Linked DNA regions of Homo sapiens: regions 1, 2, 3, 5, 6 and 7 are each linked to region 4. Evidence: promoter capture Hi-C in 16 types of primary human blood cells and fetal thymus (Javierre and others, 2016). All regions are on one chromosome and are shown on one strand. The core of a region is centred on a gene start or on the middle of the fragment in contact, and the rest is flanking DNA. Distances in the headings are between cores, read along the strand shown. Region 1 has its middle 26 kb from the start of THOC1. Region 2 overlaps COLEC12 (collectin subfamily member 12). Region 3 overlaps COLEC12 (collectin subfamily member 12). Region 4 holds the start of CLUL1 (clusterin like 1). Region 5 has its middle 27 kb from the start of ADCYAP1. Region 6 has its middle 4.1 kb from the start of THOC1. Region 7 overlaps THOC1 (THO complex subunit 1).

Evidence for each region. Contacts are between HindIII fragments. The CHiCAGO score rates a contact against its expected background, and 5 or more counts as called.
Region 1: a fragment that was not itself captured here is called in contact with the fragment with the promoter of CLUL1 in region 4 in 9 of 17 cell types (M2 macrophages, M0 macrophages, M1 macrophages and 6 more); the score reaches 38.4 in M2 macrophages.
Region 2: a contact is called between a fragment that was not itself captured here and the fragment with the promoter of CLUL1 in region 4, in 5 of 17 cell types (M2 macrophages, monocytes, M0 macrophages and 2 more). The highest score is 14.5, in M2 macrophages.
Region 3: a contact is called between a fragment that was not itself captured here and the fragment with the promoter of CLUL1 in region 4, in 5 of 17 cell types (M2 macrophages, M0 macrophages, M1 macrophages and 2 more). The highest score is 17.6, in M2 macrophages.
Region 5: a contact is called between a fragment that was not itself captured here and the fragment with the promoter of CLUL1 in region 4, in 1 of 17 cell types (activated CD4 T cells). The highest score is 5.1, in activated CD4 T cells.
Region 6: a fragment that was not itself captured here is called in contact with the fragment with the promoter of CLUL1 in region 4 in 7 of 17 cell types (M2 macrophages, M0 macrophages, M1 macrophages and 4 more); the score reaches 16.4 in M2 macrophages.
Region 7: a fragment that was not itself captured here is called in contact with the fragment with the promoter of CLUL1 in region 4 in 4 of 17 cell types (M2 macrophages, M0 macrophages, monocytes and 1 more); the score reaches 11.9 in M2 macrophages.

What each region holds. Positions count from the first base shown.
Region 1 is chr18:292,204-294,903 of GRCh38, forward strand. No RefSeq gene overlaps it. Among named protein-coding and RNA genes, the nearest start is that of THOC1, 26 kb to the left of the region's middle. The HindIII fragment of the contact is 1,165 bases long and covers 845-2,009 here.
Region 2 is chr18:333,063-335,762 of GRCh38, forward strand. COLEC12 (collectin subfamily member 12) reads right to left here. Exons shown (of 10, transcript NM_130386.3): 6 at 1,680-2,168; 7 at 1-81. Among named protein-coding and RNA genes, the nearest start is that of THOC1, 66 kb to the left of the region's middle. The HindIII fragment of the contact is 2,752 bases long and covers 1-2,700 here.
Region 3 is chr18:314,513-317,212 of GRCh38, forward strand. It overlaps COLEC12 (collectin subfamily member 12), which reads right to left. Exons shown (of 10, transcript NM_130386.3): 10 at 2,225-2,700. Among named protein-coding and RNA genes, the nearest start is that of THOC1, 48 kb to the left of the region's middle. The HindIII fragment of the contact is 2,946 bases long and covers 1-2,700 here.
Region 4 is chr18:595,668-598,367 of GRCh38, forward strand. CLUL1 (clusterin like 1) reads left to right here and starts at 1,321. Exons shown (of 10, transcript NM_001393344.1): 1 at 1,321-1,462. RefSeq lists silencers at 1,070-1,199, 1,260-1,379 and an enhancer at 1,802-2,301. The HindIII fragment of the contact is 7,229 bases long and covers 1-2,700 here.
Region 5 is chr18:876,089-878,788 of GRCh38, forward strand. No RefSeq gene overlaps it. Among named protein-coding and RNA genes, the nearest start is that of ADCYAP1, 27 kb to the right of the region's middle. The HindIII fragment of the contact is 1,192 bases long and covers 776-1,967 here.
Region 6 is chr18:270,800-273,499 of GRCh38, forward strand. No RefSeq gene overlaps it. Among named protein-coding and RNA genes, the nearest start is that of THOC1, 4.1 kb to the left of the region's middle. The HindIII fragment of the contact is 886 bases long and covers 849-1,734 here.
Region 7 is chr18:252,631-255,330 of GRCh38, forward strand. THOC1 (THO complex subunit 1) reads right to left here. Exons shown (of 21, transcript NM_005131.3): 8 at 1,643-1,725. Among named protein-coding and RNA genes, the nearest start is that of THOC1, 14 kb to the right of the region's middle. The HindIII fragment of the contact is 2,736 bases long and covers 1-2,622 here.

The DNA of each region.
Region 1 (2,700 bases), core at 177-2,676, 300 kb before region 4:
ATTTAATTTGGCTGAAGTTTTTCTTTTAACACCACCTCTGGTCTTGTTTCATTAGTGCATGGTAATAAAAATAGAATTATGTTACTGGAATGTCTACTCCTTGAGGGTGGGTCGTTTGTCTGTCTTTTTCACTGTCGTTTTCTTAGTATCTATAATAGTGCGTGGCACATAGAAGGTGTTCAGTAAATATTTCCTGACTGTAGGAGTTGATGAATGAAGAAATACTTGGTTCTAGTACATTGTTATAGGCAAATGCAAGCCCTGAACTCTGGGGGGCAGTAACATTGTCAGATGGTCATCCAGAGGCTTAAACAATGTGTTAATATTGCTGATACAGTGTTCTGAGAAATTAATTATTGATTGATTTCTCTCTGTGATTTTCTTCTACAGCTCTTCCCTTTCTTCCTGCCCCAGCCACTCAAGCAGGTGCTTGGGTTCTATGCTGATGACCTTGTTGGAGAGATGTGATTGGTCAGAAAAGCAGCAACTGGGCTGGGCACGGTGGCTCACACCTGTAATCCCAGCACTTTGGGAGGCCAAGGTGGACAGATCATTTGAGCCCAGGAGTTCAAGACCAGCTTGGGCAACATGGCAAAACCCCCGTCTCTACAAAAAAAAACACAAAAACTAGCCAGGCATTGTGGTATGCCCCTGAAGTCCCAGCTACTTGGCAGGCTGAGGCAGGAGGACGGCTTAAGCCCAGAGGTGGAGATTGCAGTGAACCGAGATCACGACACTGTACTCCAGCCTGGGTGACAGAGCGAGACCCCATCTCAAAAAATAAATAAATAAAAGTAATTAAAAAAAAGAAGGAAAGAAAAAAGAAAAGCAGCTGTTGCTCGCAAGCTTCTTGGTTTGTGTTCCCTAAATTTCCAGATGATAGGGGCATTTCAGAGTACACCCTTCTTCAGTGTGTTGGTTATCTTCCATTCCTGCCTCCACACCTACTCTGCATCTCCACCCTTATCTGTGCCCCTGAGGGCTGACCTGTATGAATTGCATAATTGGGCCCTCTTGCCTTTTGGCTTCTGCTTAGATTTGGTCAGCGGGAGGCACTAGGCTGAGGTTGGAGGGCCACATCTCAGGGGCCACTTGTTTAGACAGATGTCATCCCTCCCACACCACACCCCCACGTCCTTTGGTGTTGAGCTCTGTGAAAGGCCATGAAATTGGGACAAAACCCTGGAGATGTGGGGTGAGGGGAAGAAAGAGACCTGAGGTTAAGTTGCCTGTCCTCCTGGTAGAATGGTAGACTCAAAATTAGAAATTAAGTTTAATTATAGAAAATTATGTATTTACATATATAGATGTGCACGCTGGGATTCATACCTTCCATGGTTTTGTTTTAAAGGTTATCATTGCAATGGAAATCCAAAACGTAAGAACTGTCGTAGTGATCTCAATGGGCTCCACCCATGAATCCAATCTGAGAAACACTACACTACATTATGCGAAACTTTGGGTTATAGCATTCTAAAAGCTGGTTTCTTGTGAGCATGAATAAAAGTTGTGATTAAAAGTTACACTCTGGGAGGCAGCAAAACATAGTGGATAAGAATAAGAAATCTGGACTCAAAATCCAGCTTTGCTACTTACCAGCACTATGATTTTCAGTGAGTTGCTTAATCTCTCTGTGCATGTTTCCTCACTTGTAAAACAACACAAAATTTTGAGGATTAAGTAAGATAATATGTGAAAATGACTTAGAATGGTGCGTATGATCTGCTCCCAATAACTGCTTTTATAATTATTATTACTATGACTTCAGTAGTCATTCAAGTGTTCCTTTATTTCACTAATGTTTACTTACCACAAACGCTGCAACGTGCAGCAGGAGGTATTCACGCAGACATGAATAAAGCATTCATCTGCTTCTAAGCAGCTGGTTACCTGTTCACCAAAAAATCTATTCCTTCTTTTTCTTGGGCATGTAGCTAGACTACATTTCTAGCACCCTTGCAGGTAGGCATAGCACATAAATGAGTTCTAGCCAATGGTTTGTCAGTAGAAGCTTTTTATATGTCACTTTTGAGCCAGGGTTTTAAAGAGGCACATATGCCCTCTTCATCCTCATTCTCTTTCTAGATTCTTGATGCAGAAGATGACAAAGCCCTGAGAAATGACAGAACCTGGGTTCCTGAATCACTATGTGGAAGAGAGCTGTCAAGCAACTAGGAATATCTACCTCACACTGAATTAGGGCAAGAAGTAAACTTCTATTTGTCTTTGAACCTTATATACTATTATAAGGGTCTGTTTGTTATAGCAACTAGTATCATCCTAATTACTGCCTTCTTCTTCTAATTGATGGAACCATGATGGAAAGGGTACATACATTGCAATCACGGATGCTGTCTATTTGGATTCAAATTTTTAGGAGAGTGGGGAAGAAGCTAGAAAAATGGGATCCTTCTACATCTTGTCTTTTTATTGAAGTCAGACCCCTTTCAGATCCTCCTGATCTCACCATTGTGTCTCACCCTGGCCAGTATTTTCCCCGACCTTTCCTTCATCATTTTCTTTGTTTTTAAGGCTCCCAGACAGCAGCCTCCTCGGTTCAACCATGAATGGCATCCGCTAAAAGTGCTGACCCCTCTTTAATATCTGGGTCATGCTTTGTGTGTCTTTTTGCATTAGTGTGATGAAAAGGACTTCCTTTGGTTCCTTTCCCAAATGATCAATTGGTAATTTGTACAGTAG
Region 2 (2,700 bases), core at 126-2,625, 260 kb before region 4:
GCTTTGCATCCTCAAAAATTTCTTTCTCAACTGAAAAATAGTAGCATTTGTCTGTGAAGTTCTTCCAGTGAGGCGGGCAGCCTAGGAATGCAAAAGTGGAAAACATTGATTAAAAGATCACAGAAAGCACTCTGCCTTTCTTCAGCTGTGTTTCAGAGGCCAAAACTGTGGTCCCGCTGGGAGCAGCCTGAGCGTCCCTGCACGAGGCCCACAGCTGACGTTCACGGACGTGCTCGCAGCAAGCATGACCCAAAGTGGACTGCAGAGCACAAGCCAAAACCACATAATCTGGAAAAGATCTTTGACTGGGTCTTTGTTCTTCTGTGTCTGGATCCGTCTTCACAATGACAGAAATAACAGAAGCAACAACAAGAAGCAGGGCAGGCACAGATGTTCAGCGTCAGTCTGGAATCATACGGAACCCAGGAACACTTGGATGTGAGAACCCAGCACCAAAACTGGGCTCACGGATCAACAAAAATAACCCGGGCCTCACCGACCAAAATCAAGTAGAATAGCGGTTGGGTCAAAGGAGAGAAAAATAGGCTTGGTTGCTAACCAAACATTCGAGTTTTGCCAAAGGTTTAATTATCAAAAGACTAGAAGGCACCGTAACATCTAACACCTTTCTCAAAAAGAAATTAAATGTAGTCATCAATAGCAGAGGGTTCCATCCACATGTTGATGGAGCTAACCGAGGGAGCCCATCTATCTCCAGAGTGAGGATGTAAAACGAGGGAAGAGCGCTCAGGGCGGCCAGCAGGCTTCCCTGAAGGAAATGTTTTGCATTGTGTTTGTCTTCTGAGGGCTGGCTCCTATAAATAAACAAGTGCAAGAGCCAGGTGCAGTGGCTCCCACCTGGAATCCCAGCACTTTGCAAGACTGAGGCAGGAGGGTTGCTTGAGGCCAGGAGTTCAAGACCAGCCTGGGCAACATAGCAAGACCCTGTCTCTACAAAAAGGAAAATAAAAAATTAGCCAGGTGTGGTGGCATACCCCTGTGGTCCCAGCTACGCAGGAGTCTGAGTGGGAAGATCACCTAAGCCCAGGAGGTCAAAGCTGCAGTGAGCTATGTTTGCACTACTTCACTTCGTCATTCCAGCCTGGGTGACAGAGTGAGACCCTGTCCCATACATACACACATAATACATAAAACAAATGAGCACTAGAGAACCCAATGGCGTTTAGAGAGAAACACATGCCTGGTATGGAGGCCTGTTCTGGCAGCAGGGCTCCTGTGCCAGCCCCTATGATGCCTTTGCTGTTAAATAATATGCAGCGGGGGACAAGACGTGGTGGCTCACACCTGTAATCCCAGCACTTTGGGAGACTAAGGTAGGTGGATCACTTGAGGCCAGGAGTTTGAGACCAGCCTGGCCAACACGGTGAAACCCCCTCTCTACTAAAAATACAAAAATTAGCTGGCTGTGGGGGCACACGCTTGTAGTCCCAGCTACCTGGGAGGCTAAGGCAGGAGAATCACTTGAACCCGGGATGTGGAGGTTGCAGTGAGCCGAGATCACGCCACTGCACTCCAGCCTGGGCAACAGAGTGAGACCCTGTCTCAAAACAAAAACAAAAACAAAAATAACATGGGTGGGGCCACACACTGGGGGTTGGCTCAGTCTCAAGCACATGCACTGCCCTGTCCCCCTGGCTGGAGGGAGGGCTTGGACTTACCATTGTCCTCCGGTGCTGGGGTTGGCTCATTCTGCAGGGCCAGGGGCACCACCGCTCCTGATGGGCCAGGAGGGCCGGGGGGGCCCTTGGGGCCTGGCATGCCTGGTACCCCAGGCAAGCCTGGCAGTCCCCGAGGTCCAGGCACCCCAGGCTCCCCAACGGTGCCCTGAAGTCCCTGGAAGCCAGGAGGGCCCTGAGGGCCGGGGAGTCCCTCTTTGCCTGGTGGGCCCGGGGGGCCTGGGTCCCCACTGGAGCCCTGAGGGCCGGGCTTCCCAGGGGAACCACGGGAGCCTTTGGGGCCCTGGGAGCCTTTAGATCCTTTGCCGCCACGCTCTCCGGGGGGACCAGCTGGTCCAATTGGGCCTCTCTCACCCGCAGGGCCAGGTGGTCCAGGCTCCCCCTTCTCTCCTTTCTGTCCCTTGTTGCCAGTTGGGCCAGGGGGTCCCTGGGATCCTCTGTCACCTCTTGGACCCCTGGGGCCCGGTGGACCTAAAGCATAAAAGAAAAAGGTGTCAACATGAAATCCACTGTGAATGATAGTTATGAATAATTTTTCTTCTTATAAAATCTCCAAATTAAAAAAACCTAGCATACAAAGTATATACAGCAGGGAAAGACCATCTGTTTATCATACTACTGTAGACTGTTATGGGCTAAATTATGTCCTCCTCCAAATTCTTATGCTGAAGTCCTAACCCCCAGCACCTCAGGATGGGACTTATTAAGAGACACGGCCTTTACAGAGGTCATCGAGTTAAAACGAGGTGACATGAGTGACCCTAATCCAATAGGACTGGTGTACTTAAAGAAGAGGGGATTAGGTCACAGACACATAGAGGAAAGATCGCTTGAGGGCACAGGGAGAAGATGGACTCCTGCAAACCAAGGAGGGAGGCCTCGGAGGAAACAACACTGCTGACACCTTGATCTTGGACTTGCGGCCTCCAGAACCGTAAGGAAAGAAATGTCTGTTGTTTAAGCCTCCCAGTCCGTGTACTGTGTACTGTGTATATGGCAGCCC
Region 3 (2,700 bases), core at 147-2,646, 280 kb before region 4:
TAGAAGACCAGCCAATGGACAATTCTCCATCCCTGGCCCAGAGGACTAAATGGAGACCCCTTGGTTAAGCTCATTTAATCACCTGTCTGGATGAATTGTCAGAAGGAGCCCCCGCCCTGGCAGCTGACCCCCTCCCCAAGTTGCACGGTGATCCTTGCTTTGCAAACTCAAGGCTAGTAAGTCCTTGGAGGAGGCTGGAGGCTGGGATACAATCCCGGCTATGAAGGCAGGGCTGGCTGGAGATCATTCATTCATATACTCATTCACTGAAAAAATGTGAAAACCACTCAAAACCTCTGAGAAATTAAAGTTGGTTTTCATAGGTCTGCTTCCCTCTGGCCTTCTGCTCACCTGGCATAACCTGTGCATGCTACATACTTATTTGAACAGGGGTATGTAGGAGAGGAAGGATGAAAGAGTGAAACAAAATATTGTCAACATCTGCCTTGTGACTTAGAAAATAAATATGATGCCATGCCCTTAAGGGATTCTTCTGAGAAAAATGAAGTTATTGCACAAAGAAACAGATTCTTAGAAAGACTGAAAAATTTGCTTGTACTTCTAAAACTGTTGAGTATGACTAAGAAATGAGATGCCCCATCACACTGCCATTTAGGACGGGTTCCAAAACGTTTCCCTGACTCAGGGCCATATTTTGGTAAAGAGAATGAAGAGAATGAGTCTGGTTTACCATGTGATTCCTTTACTCAATCTTCCATTCACACACACACACACACACACACACACACACACACACACACACGCACCAACTATTAGCAACATCATGAATTCCTTCACTTCTCCTGTTTGGCTTCTCTATTTATTTATTTATTATTTTATTTATTTTTGAGATGGAGTATTGCTCTGTCACCCAGTCTGGAGTGCAATGGCGCGAGCTCAGCTCACTGTAACCTCCGCCTCCCAGGTTCAAGCAGTTTTTGTGCCTCAGCCTCCCAAGTGGCTGGGATTACAGGTGCCTGCCACCACGCCCAGCTAATTTTTTTTTTTTCCAGTAGAGACAGGGTTTCACCATGATCCACCCGCCTTGGCTTCCCAAAGTACTGGGATTATCAGTGTGAGCCACCACGCCTGGCTTTTAATATTTTTTTCGAAAAGGTCTTGACTCTGTCACCCAGACTGGAGCTCAGTGGCACAATCTCAGCTCACTGCAGCCTTGACCTCCCAGGCTCAAGTGTTCCTCCCACCTCAGCCTCCCCAGTAGCTGGGACTACAGGCAAGCACCACCACACCCAGCTAACTTTTGTATTTTTTGTAGAGATGGGGTTTCACCATGATGGCCAGGCTGGCCTTGAATTCCTGGGCCTGAGCCATCCTCCCACCTTGGCCTCCCAAAGTGCTAGGATTACAGGCATAAGCCACCATGCCTGGCCTCTGTCTTAATTCATTAAGTTTTAGGCTTTTCAGCTAACCTGTAGATTATCTAACACAGTGAAGGGGTTTTCTCTTTTATTACCCAGAGCACTTGGTGCAGGAGCCAGTTCTACCTCCAGGTGTGGTTTGTTGGGAAAGGATTCAGATAAGAAGTGATGCTTGAGCTGAATCTTAAAGGAGGTGTTTTCCAGGTAAAGGAGGCAGGGAAAGAAAACCCAGGGGGAGTATGGAGGTGATAAAGAGGCTAGTGGAAGGTGCAGGTGCATAGTCTGGCTGTGCTAGTGCCAGGGCATGGGTGATGGGTCCCACCTGGAAAGAAGGCTAGACTTGGAGTTGGGAACCAGGTACCAAGTGCCTTACGGCCCCTGCAGGTATGTCCTGAGCCCAACCAGGATTGTTTGGAAGATTTTAAGCCGAGGGTGAGAGGTAGGATGGATTCAGATTTGGGGACCTGAGTGGGGAACCTGATCAGATTTGCTTTTTGGAAAGTGACTGTGACAGATACGTGAGCCATGGGCAAGTCTTCAACCTGAGCCTCAGTTTCCTCATTTCTCAAGCAGGAACAATAGATGTGCGTGAAGACTGGAAGCGATAATGTATGTGAAAAGTGGTATATGTCAACTATTATTACATGACTTTGAGTCACGAATGAGCTAACATGCTTACGTTCTCAAGAAGAGATCAGTTTCGTCATCTGCTTGGTATTGTTTCTTGATTTATACAGCTGTTTCCTCAAGCATTTTTCTTTAAATGGGAGCAGCTATTACTATTTTTTGTCTGTTTCAGCTTCAACTCTGTTACAAATTGGAAGGAACGAGTTGTTGAACATTGATCGTAGAAAAGGAAAAGAAAGTTTTTATTTTTTGCCTTGTTGTGCATTCATTCTTTCAAAAGCTGTTTAGAGGAAAAAACATTTTCTATCTTCTCATAGTAGTAAGTAGCAACTCAGGTGCCTGAAGACCCCATCATATTTTACTAAAACTCTCCACTCCAAAAGAGCATCAGTTGTGTGTAGGTGAATAGAAAGCTGGTGTGTAGGCCGGGCACGGTGGCTCACACCTGTAATCCCAGCACTTTGGGAGGCCAAGGCGGGTGGATCACCTGAGGTCAGGAGTTTGAGACCAGCCTGGCCAAAATGGCGAAACCGTGTCTCTACTAAAAACACAAAAATTAGCCTGGCATGGTGGCACGCACCTGTAGTCCCTAAGCTACTGCAGAGGCTGAGGCGGGAGAGTCGCTTGAACCTGGGAGGCAGAGATTGCAGTGAGCCGAGATCGCGCCACCGCACTCCAGCCTGGGTGACAGAGC
Region 4 (2,700 bases), core at 71-2,570:
CTGTTGTTAAATTTATAAAGATATAAAAAGGGGAAAGGGGAAGGCACCAAATGGAAGATTCTTAGGCATTAAGTGCTCAGACAGCATAGATCTTCATTAGATGACGTCAGGGAGAAGAGACACAGACTTTGCCATCTCAGGTAGAAGTATCAAAGTCATCAGCCTCCTAGTAAGACAGACCTGGGTTTGAAGCTCTGCACAGCCATTTCCTAGCTGGTCTGGGGAAAAATTACTTCTTGAAGCCTCAGTGTCTTTATTTGTAAAGTAAGTGGAATTATATTACCTTGTCAGGATGTTGTCAGAATTAGAAATAATTTAAAGAGGTCCAGCACGAGCAGGTCAATCAAGGGAAGATGTTAAAAATAACAACAGGTGAAATGTACTCCCAAAAGATAAAGTGGATACATAGATGAATCTTCCTCACACACAGAGTATAATAACCTCAGAAAAATATTGCCTAGAGTAAACATGCCTCCCAAGCCAACGTTCATCATCCAGGAATACGGAGAGGATGTTTGGGATATGGGGGGCATGAAATTTTACAATTGTAGGGCCCTTTAACAAGGGTAGACTTGCAAGTTGCACTGCCTTTCCTGCCCTCTCTGGCTACCTGTTCCAGCATCCAGAGTTTGTGAACCTGGGGCCCAAGGACAGCACCTGGCATGGGCAGGCCCACTTGGCGACTCTCTCAGGGCTGCTGCAGCTGTGTCAGTGTCCCCACAGGGAGGCTGACATCCAGCCATGACCATCGCATTAAGCCCAGCAGTCGGGCAGGGGAGCAACTGCTCAGAGGCACCTTTGACCCACTACTTTTTTCCCCTCCTGCTTTATCTGCCCAGAGCGAGGCTCTCTTTCTAATGTGTACAAGGCGTTCTACCTATGACTCGTGGTCCTGCCATAGAAATGCTTTTTTTTTTTTAACTGAATTAAGTTGCCAAGTTTGAAAAATCAGGAATTTCACATAAGCATCCCTATTTCTGTCTTCTTTTGAAAAACTGAATGTTCTTTCCACAGTGAGCCCACATTCCTTCCTGACGACCATCACCGTTCAGCTGGAGTAGAGAGGGCTCTGCTCGCTTCAGATCCGGACGCGCAGGTCCTCTGCAGGCCCCGCCCACCCGGCGTCACCTGCAGGTCCCGCCCACCCGGCGTCTGCAGGCCCCGCCCACCCGGCGTCACCTGCAGGCCCCGCCCACCCGGCGTCTGCAGGCCCCGCCCACCCGGCGTCACCTGCAGGCCCCGCCCACCCGGCGTCTGCAGGCCCCGCCCACCCGGCGTCACCTGCAGGCCCCGCCCACCCGGCGTCTGCAGGCCCCGCCCACCCTGCGTCACCTGCAGGCCCGGGCCGCGGGGTTGGTTTCCACCCTGGAGGTTGCTGACACCCTGTGCCCTCGGCTGACTTCCAGCCGGTGGCACAGACGCCTCCAGGGGGCAGCACTCAAGCGCATCTTAGGAATGACAGGTGAGAACATCCTCCGGGCCCCAGATTTCTCTCCTCGCCGCTCTTGCCCATTTCTCCGGAGAGCCAGAGAAAGCCGCTCCCAAGTCCAAGGCCGAGCTCCGCAGACGCCCGGCCCCTCCGGCGCGGACAGAACAAAGCCACTGTTCTTGCCGGGGAAGGTAGAAATACTGTGGGCTGCTTCAGAGGCTGCCAGCAAAACTCAGGCAATCTCCTGGGCTGTTCCAATACGTTTATTCTCTTTTTCAAAACAGGAGGAGGAGGTAGAGGCGGGGAGACACACCATCCCTGCAAAACTACTGGCAAAAACTAAGCGGAGCCGGGTGTGGTGGCTCACGCCTGTAATCTCAACACTTTGGGAGGCCGAGGGGGGCCGATCACTTGAGGTCAGGAGTTGGAGGCCAGCCTGGCCGGCATGGTGAAACACAAAAATTAGTCGATTGTGGTGGTGCATGCTTGTAATCCCATCTACTTGGGAGGCTGAGGCAGGAGAATCGCTTGAACCCGGGAGGCGGAGGTTGCAGTGAGCCGAGATTGCGCCACTGCACTCCAGCCTGGACAACACAGTGAGATTCTGTCTCAAAATAAATAAATAAATAAACCCAAGCAGAAAAAGAATCACTCTGAAAACGATCACATCTAACTATCAATGCTCATACAGTTTATGGAATTATCAGCCCAACTTGATAAAATCAGTATTTGAGGAAACTGTGGATAAGCCCCCTGATTTCAATCCCCATTGTGCCAGGTCCTGGTTAACTGAGGTTAACGAAGTAAAGAGCTGCAGACACTATTAACTGCTACCTTAAACCGATTACTCTAGCTTAGCCTACTTTCCACGTACAGATTTTACCAGTGGACAACATGATGCTTTATCTTGTTTTTCTCTCCCTGGGACTTTTCTCCAGACATTGAAAACAGAAATACTAATAAGGCCACTTTTACCTGCCTGATGCAAGAACAGAATTTTCAAACTCAACATTAATGCAACTCCTCAGTCCCTGACAATGGCGGGTGGAAAAGTTTCTAAAAATATGCAGCAGCACAATTATCGGGAAGAGATGAGATACTGTTACCTAATAAAAATGCCATAAATAGAGAATGATGAACTACCATGGGAAATGAATGCATAGAAGAGGACATGCTGGAATGTGGGACAGTAAAAATCACTTAAACTTTGCGTGACCTTGAAGAAAGTCACGATGATCTGTTTTTCCAGGTCCCTCAAACAGTGAGATGTG
Region 5 (2,700 bases), core at 122-2,621, 280 kb after region 4:
ATGTTGACATTGTGCCAACTGGGGCTTTCAAATTTTGCCTAATTGGGTTATGTATGGAACCAACATTCTTGGGGAAAACAAGAGTAATTCATTTAACTCTCACAATAATCCCATGAGATAGGTATGGAGAATGAGGAAAATGAATTTCAAAGAGGTTAAGTAACTTGTCCAAGAGCAATTAGAGGGACCATAATGGAACTGGGATTCAAATATAAGCCTGTTAGACCACCTGAAACCCAAGAAAATTTCTCCACTATATGTGCCATCATCAACGGGGAACAAAAATAGTTTCTCTGTTAGAACATTGTAGCTATTGTAGCATGAAAGGACAAATCAAGGTTTTCTTCACTTTTATTTTCTGCCAAAACTCTCAGCTCATTACATCTGTGGAACTTTGTTTTTTCTAGTGAGGGGTGAAGCAGCCAAAATAAAAAACAATCGTTATGAAAAAATATCTTTAGAGTTTCCCTAAGGGAGAACATAGGTTAGAGAGAAAATCCTGTGACTGCTAAGAGCCAGGGGTCTGTGCATGCACCTGTCCCCCATCCAAAAGGATGATCTAATGGGAAAAGCACGTTTGTTCAGTGAGAGCAGAGAGTAGAGTTGAGAAGGGTCCCAGAGTTCTGCTTCCCCTCCCTGGGTTCTATATGTGTGTTTGTGCATGTGTGTAGCATAATAAATTCGACTCTAGGTAGGCTAGTGGTGTGTGAGTGCTTCCTTTCCCAAGTAAGGCTGGGGGACACCCAAGCTTTGCAGAGAAGCCCCCTCCCACCAAAGCTTGGCATGGCAGTGGCAAATGCCTGTGAGAGTGGTGGCCTAGGCAGGGTGCCTGGGTCTTGTTCCCCACACTGCCCACCACCAGTCATGGCGAGTGGGACAGGAGAGCACTGGAAAGTTTCTCGTGCTCTCAAGAGAGGCTCAAGATTGGCTGAGAGAAGCCGGATGGAGTAGAAGTGGCTGCCAATCACGATGAAGGGGAGCCGTCAGCAGATGCTGCATGGCCCATTTGAAAGAGAAACCACAGCTGGCATAGATGCCCCTCACTAAAGACCCAGCAAGGTGAGTACTAGCTCTGTGGAGGCCCTGGAGGGTGGAGAGCCATCAAGAACCAGATGCCGCTGGCCCTGGGGGCTCATGCCTGCAATCCCAGTACTTTGGGAGGCAGAAGCGTTGGAGACTAGGGGCTCATTTGAGCCCAGAAATTTGAGACCAGCCTGGACAACACAGTGAGACCCTGTCTCTTAAAAAAAAAAATTAGCCAGGTGTGGCGGCACATGCCTGTAGTCCAAGCTACTCAGGAGGCTGAAGCGGAAGAATCGCTTCAGCCTGGGAGGTCAAGGCTGCAGCGAGCTGTGATTGCATCATTGCCCTCCAGCCTGGGTGACAGAGCAGGACCGTCTCTCAAAAAAACCAAAAACCAAAAAACAAAAAACAAAAAACAAGAACAACAACAAAAAACCCCAGTTGCTTCTCCCACTCAAATATAGGCACTTCCACAAGCTCTCTAAAACTCATACCTTTAGGTTAAAGTGGAACATAAGGTCCTTGGATTTTCCTGGGAAAAAAATTCTGACTTAACTAATAACATCAATTTTTTTGTAATGATTGATTTGACTGAGTTTACCTAGAAATTATTAGATTAAACTTTCGCTAATAGTAATGGAAGCTCAGGGAAACAATTAAATCCTGTTATAAGAAAATAAAAATACGGTTTTACTCACTTTAGTCATTGACTATAAAAACCCATTCCCCTGTATATAATAACGCAAAACACATCCCAATATGTTCTGCCTGCCTCCGTGTTTTCCCACAGTTTTCCATTGGTTTCTTTCTTATTTCCTCCCACACAGGCTGAATTGCTAGGCTGTCCCTGTCAGCTTTCTTGGATTTAAAGGTCAGGAGCTCCAGGGGATCTCGAAGGTGTCAGATTGTTAGTTATTATTGTAATAACTGTTCAGTTAACTAAAAGCTTTATGAATTTGCATATTGAAAAGTTTCAGATGGTTGCTATTTATTTTAGCTTGCTCCTTTTGCAATAAAAGCTTTCTATTTAATTATTAATTTGGCTGTTATTCCTGGCAATTCTTGGCTATAAATAAATGTTTTCAAAACACTATCCAAAAACCACTAAGGGTTTTTTCCTAGTGGTAGAGCTGTTCTATTTGAGATTCGGATGCTGTAAGTAGTGTTTAACAATGAATAAATACTACTGATATAAATTAAATTTAAATAATAGTTTCTTCATGATTTTGGGAGGGCTGGGAGCATTGTGTATATAATAGTTTAATATAATAATAATATTATAATAATAGTTTCTTCATGATTTTGGAAGTGACTGCATTGATAGTTTAGACAAAACTTGTGATGTCTTAACTGTAATTGGAGGACCAAAAGAATTCTGTTATTTAAATAACTGTTGGAGATTGTAATGACTGGTTTTATGTGTCAATTTGGATAGGCTATAGTGCCTAATTGTTCAATCAAACACTAATCTAAGTGTTGCTGTGAAGGTATTTTGTAAATATGGTTAACAGCTACAATTAATTGAGTTTAAGTAAAGGAGACTATTCTTGTGTGTGGGCCTCATTCGATCTGTTGAAAGCCGAAGAGCAAAGTCAAGGTTTCTCTGAGAAAGAAGAAATCCTGCCTCAAGGCTGTGGCATTAGCTCCTCCCTCATCGTCTGCAGCCTGCTAGCCTGC
Region 6 (2,700 bases), core at 42-2,541, 320 kb before region 4:
GCTAAGTTTGGAATTTGAGCCTAGCTGTCATCCCAAAGCCTGTATTTTTCTTAAGTCTTAACTCTTGAATCTTTACCATGGGCCTATTCAATGTTTCAGAAATTATTTCCTTACAATTGGATAAGGGCGAGGACCATAGTGTCATTAATAACAAAACATAGGCCCGGTGCGGTGGCTCACGCCTGTAATCCCACTACTTTGGGAGGCCGAGCCAGCTGGATCACCTGAGGTCGGGAGTTTGAGACCAGCCTGGCCAATATGGTGAAACCCCATCTCTACTAAAAATACAAAAATCAGCCAGGCATGGTGGCAGGCACCTGTAATCCCAGCTACTCGGGAGGCTGAGTCAGGAGAATCGCTTGAACCCGGGAGGCGGAGGTTTCAGCGAGCCAAGATCCTGCCATTGCACTCCAGCCTGGGCAACAAGAGCAAAACTCCATCTCAAAAAAAAAAAAAAAAAAAAAGAGTTTTTTGTTTTTTGTTTTTTTGTTTGTTTGTTTGTTTGTTTTTAAGTGGGTAATAACATCCAGAGGGCAGACATCCAGGAACATGTAACCTTTTCACTTATATTTACTGAGCACCTGTTTTTCCTCATGCTAGCTGGTGAAGTAAGATGGACGAAGGACTGCCTCTCTGTTAGGAAATAACTTGCATGGGAGAATCTAGGATGGATGGTTTAGATCAGTTCTAGGCATTCACATCTTCATTCCTCTTTTTTTTCCTTAGTGTGGCCTTACTTGAGTTCAGTTTACCATTGGAATGGTAAGATCTGGGAGGAAAGGACTAAGGATGCAGTTTAATCTGCTTTTCTTCTAGTTCTTATCCTGACTATTGTCTAGGCAGAAGGAAGCTTTTTGCTCCATGCTTACTGGTCGGCCACATTAGGATGTTGGATTGCAGGTTTGCCTTTTTCAGCATTTGGGCCCCAGCCATCTCTCCCTTTCTCTCATTTGTAGTTTAAGTGGATTGAAATAATTATATTTATTTAAAGGGAACTGATGTTTGAGTGGCAAAGTTGAATAAAAAGAATGAGACTCCTGCATTGTGAGAGGAATGGAACTGAGAAGAATAAAAATGAAAAAAATGGCCGGGCACAGTGAGTCACACCTGTAATCCCAGCACTTTGGGAGGCCAAGGTGGGTGGATCACTTGAGGCCAGGAGTTTGAGACCAGCCTGACCAAGATGGTGTAACCCTATCTCTACTAAAAATACAAAAAATTAGCTGGGTGTGTTGGCCGCGCCTGTAATCCTAGCTACCCAGAAGGCTGAGGCAGGAGAAGCGCTGGAACGTGGGAGGTGGAGGTTTCAGTGAGCAGAGATCGTGCTACTGCACTCTAGCCTGGGTGACAGAGTGTGACTCTATCTCAAAAAAAAAAAGGAAAAGGACGGCCCTTTATACTCTAGAGCTTAAATTTTCTTGGAAAAAGAGTAATTTTCATGAAAGCTATGTAGGGAGGCTGTATTTTTATAGCATAGTGGCAATTTTCAAGCATTTTATATTGTTGATATTGTACTGTTTGTTCAATATATTGAGTGCTTACTATCTGCCAGGCAAAGGTATAATATTATTGAAATATATATGTAGCACTATTTTATTATATTGCAGGTACTGTATATATCATTATCTAGCATATATTGTAAAATCCTGTTTGGTGGGCTCAGTTGGACCACATAATGAGCATAATTCAAGGTGAGAGATGGAATAGTGGGTCAGTTTTTGCCCGGGCATGCCAAGCTTCCCTGCAGGGTTAGTCAAGGGATTTGCCTGAAATTCTACCATTGTTTGGCTTGTTCCCCTTTCCTGTCCTGTTTTTCTCTCTCCCTGAGAGTATTATCTTAACAAATCATTTGCTTATGAATTATCACCTCAGGATTTGCTTCTGAAGATCCGGATTGTGTTCGTTTGGGTCTACATAGAAGCAGACACAGATACATTACACCATACATTGGATGTGCAAGAGATTTACTAAGGAGAGAGCAAGAGCAGGGAGGGAGAACTTGCAGACAGCAGTGCAGGTCTGACACTCACAGGAGGAGAAAAGGAAGGAATGTGGATTGGGTAAGAAGTTTCTGGGTACAGTGCAATTCCAAGAAAGGGTTGGCTTTGCAAAGAGTCCTGCAGTTTGTCAGAATGGGCCTGTACTAGTACCTTTGCCATCCTCATTCATTGACTGGGACCCTCAGAAAGCATGGCCTTGGTGCAAATGTGGTGGTTGATCCAGAGGGTAGCAGCTTGAGCTGTCAGTCAACTGTGGTCCCCGCAGCTGAAGATCTGAGTAGAGCATTATCATGGCCACCACACTGCCCTAAGATACTAATCATGTAGTAATTTTTTATTTGTATTCAGAAAATATTTTCTTTGTTTATTCTCAACAAATATATGTGAACCTAGCACTGTGAACAAAGAAGAGTTACTACCCTAATGAGGCCTTTATTCTGTGTGGGAGCAGGGTTATTTATTTATTTATTTTTGAGACGGAGTCTCGCTCTGTCGCCCAGGCTGGAGTGCAGTGGTATGATCTTGGCTCACTGCAACCTTGGCCTCCCGGGTTCAAGTGATTCTCGTGCCTCAGCCTCCTGAATAGCTGGGACTACCGGCACACAGCACCATGCCCAGCTAATTTTTGTATTTTTAGTAGAGATGGGGTTTCGCCATGTTGGCCAGGCTGGTCTCAAACTCCTGGCCCCAAGTGATCCGC
Region 7 (2,700 bases), core at 5-2,504, 340 kb before region 4:
GTATAGCCTGTCATGAAGCAGTCATCAGACAGAAGAGATAAATGCTAGAATAAGTGGTCAGTTACACATTCCTAGGCAACCCACAGTTAGAGAAGTCTAGTCACTAACTATCTAGACCTATAGTTAATCTGTAAGGCAATCAGAATTTTACCTGATGGACAGAAGAACTCAAGAGCAGTATGACAATGATATAACACAGTCATGAAGACAGTAGAAAGTTTCAAATCTACATTTCTAAACATAATCAATAGATTCCCTCTGGGAATAAAGGGCTAAATGTTTTGGAAATGCACAAGACAATTCAACAATAAAATGAGCAAACAGCATGAATAGCTAATTCACAGAAGAAAAATAAATTCCAACCAACATATAATAAGTTCCTCAACACCAATAATGATCAAGGAAATGAAATTAAAACTAAGAAGACTTATTTTTCAAATATATACATCAATTAAGCCAATATTTTTTAAAAATTGATAATTCACACTGTTGGGGTGAGGCTGTGGGGAAAAAGGGCAGGCATTCTCCATGTGCCACTGGTGGCTGTATAAATTGGTATAACCTTTTTGAGAAGTAACCAGGCAATAGCTATTGAAATATGGAATATGCATATATTTTAACCCAGTAATTTTACTTACTGGAATTTATCCTAAAAAGACATCTGCATAATTGATGCAGACGCTGCAGACTGATGCAATATTATACACTACTAGACACTGTAACATTGTTTTTCACTATCAGAGATAATCTGAATGTCCACAGGCAGAGAAATGTGATATATCCACTCTGAGATTTATCAAGAGCCATTTAAAAACTAAGATAAAACTAAATCTTAAAGGAAGAAAGTGAATTTCAGAATAGTATGAATGACCTCATTCTGGAGAAAAACAACATGTTTGTACATATACACAAAAAGTCCTGGTATGGTGAGACAGAGAATGTTATGAGTGGTTATAGAAATAATATGAATTTATAGAAAAAATACATATTCTGCAAAAAATAACCCAATGTTTAAAACAGAAAGTACATCTATTCTATAATCTACCTTATGATTAACACTATTAAAACAGAAAGTATAGCTACTTTGTTAATCCACTTTAATAGAAAGCTATGCCATAATCTACCATGGTCTACCTTGGATTACAGAATAACTGTACATTCTATCTTAAACACTGGTTGAATTTTTTACATACAAAACATTATTTCTGTAAGTTGGAAATAAAGTTAAAAGTTTTTAAATTTTTGATGACTTGTAGGCCCATTTACATGAAATTTTTTTTTTTTTTTTTTTTTTAAATGAGACAGGTTCTCACTCTGTCGCCCAGGCTGGAGTACAGTGGCATGATCAAGGCTCACTGCAGCTTGACCTCCCTGGGCTGAGGCGATTCTCCCACCTCAGCCTCTCGAGTAGCTGGGACCACAGGCGTGCACCACCATGCCCTGCTAATTTTTGTACTTTTTTGTAGGAATGAGGATTTGCCATGTTGTCCAGGCTGGTCTTGAACTCCTAGGCTCAAGCGATCTGCCCACCTCAGCCTCCCAAAGTGCTAGGATTACAAGTGTGAGCCACTGTGCCTGGACCCACTATCTTAATAACAAACTTGCAAATATGTTATCTGAGAAGATTTCAAATCAGCCTCACCTTCTGACCCAGGGTGCTTTCCTGCTCATTTGTATTGAAAACAGTGACATTTTCCAGATTAAACTGACTCTGCAAGTTAAGACCTAGTAAAAAAACAAAAAAAAGATGCAAAGCAAGTCCAGTGACACCTAAACTTATGTATAACTTGTGTCATAATCAAAACTACAAAATGCCAAATCCATAAAGAGCAGTCAAAATTAACACATTTGATTTTCAAATCCTTTCAAAAATTCATTTCTTAAAAGTACCTTTGGAGTATGGGCATACCTTGTTTTGTTGTTCTTCACAGTTTCTTGTTTTTTTAAATAAATTGAATGGCAACCCTGCATCGTGCAAGTCTATCAGCACCATTTTTCCAACAGCATATGCTCACTTCCTCTGTCACATTTTGGTAATTCTCACAATATTTCAAACTTTTTCATTATTATTATATCTGTTATGATGATCTGTGATCAGTGATCTTTGAGGTTAACATTGTCATTGTTTTGCCACAGATTTGTTTTTGCCACAAACTGTGCCCATCTAAGATCTAAGACAGTAAACTATTTTTTTTTTTTTTTGAGACAGCGACTCACTCCTGTCACCCAGGCTGCAGTGCAGTGGCATGATCATGGCTCACTGCAAGTTCAGCTTCCCAAGCTCAGATGATCCTCCCACCTCAGCCTCCTGAGTAGCTGGGACTACAGGCAAGCACCACCATGCCTGGCTAAATTTTTTTGTATTTTTAGTAGAGACGGGCTTTTGCCATGTTGCCTAAGCTAGTAAGATAGCAAATTCAATCAATAAATGCTGTGTGTGTTCTGACTGCTTCACCGACCAACCGTTCCCATGACTCTCTCTCTCTCCTTGGGCCTCCTTATTCCCTGAGACGAGACAATATTGAATTTAGGCCAACTAATAATCCTGCAATGGATTCTAAGTGTCAAGTAAAAGGATGAGTCTCACATTTCTCACTTTAAATAAAAACCTATACATGATTAAGCTTAGTAATTAAGGCATGTCAAAAGCCACGACAGGCTGAAAGTTCTCTTGCGCTTAACAGTTAGCCAAGTTGTGAA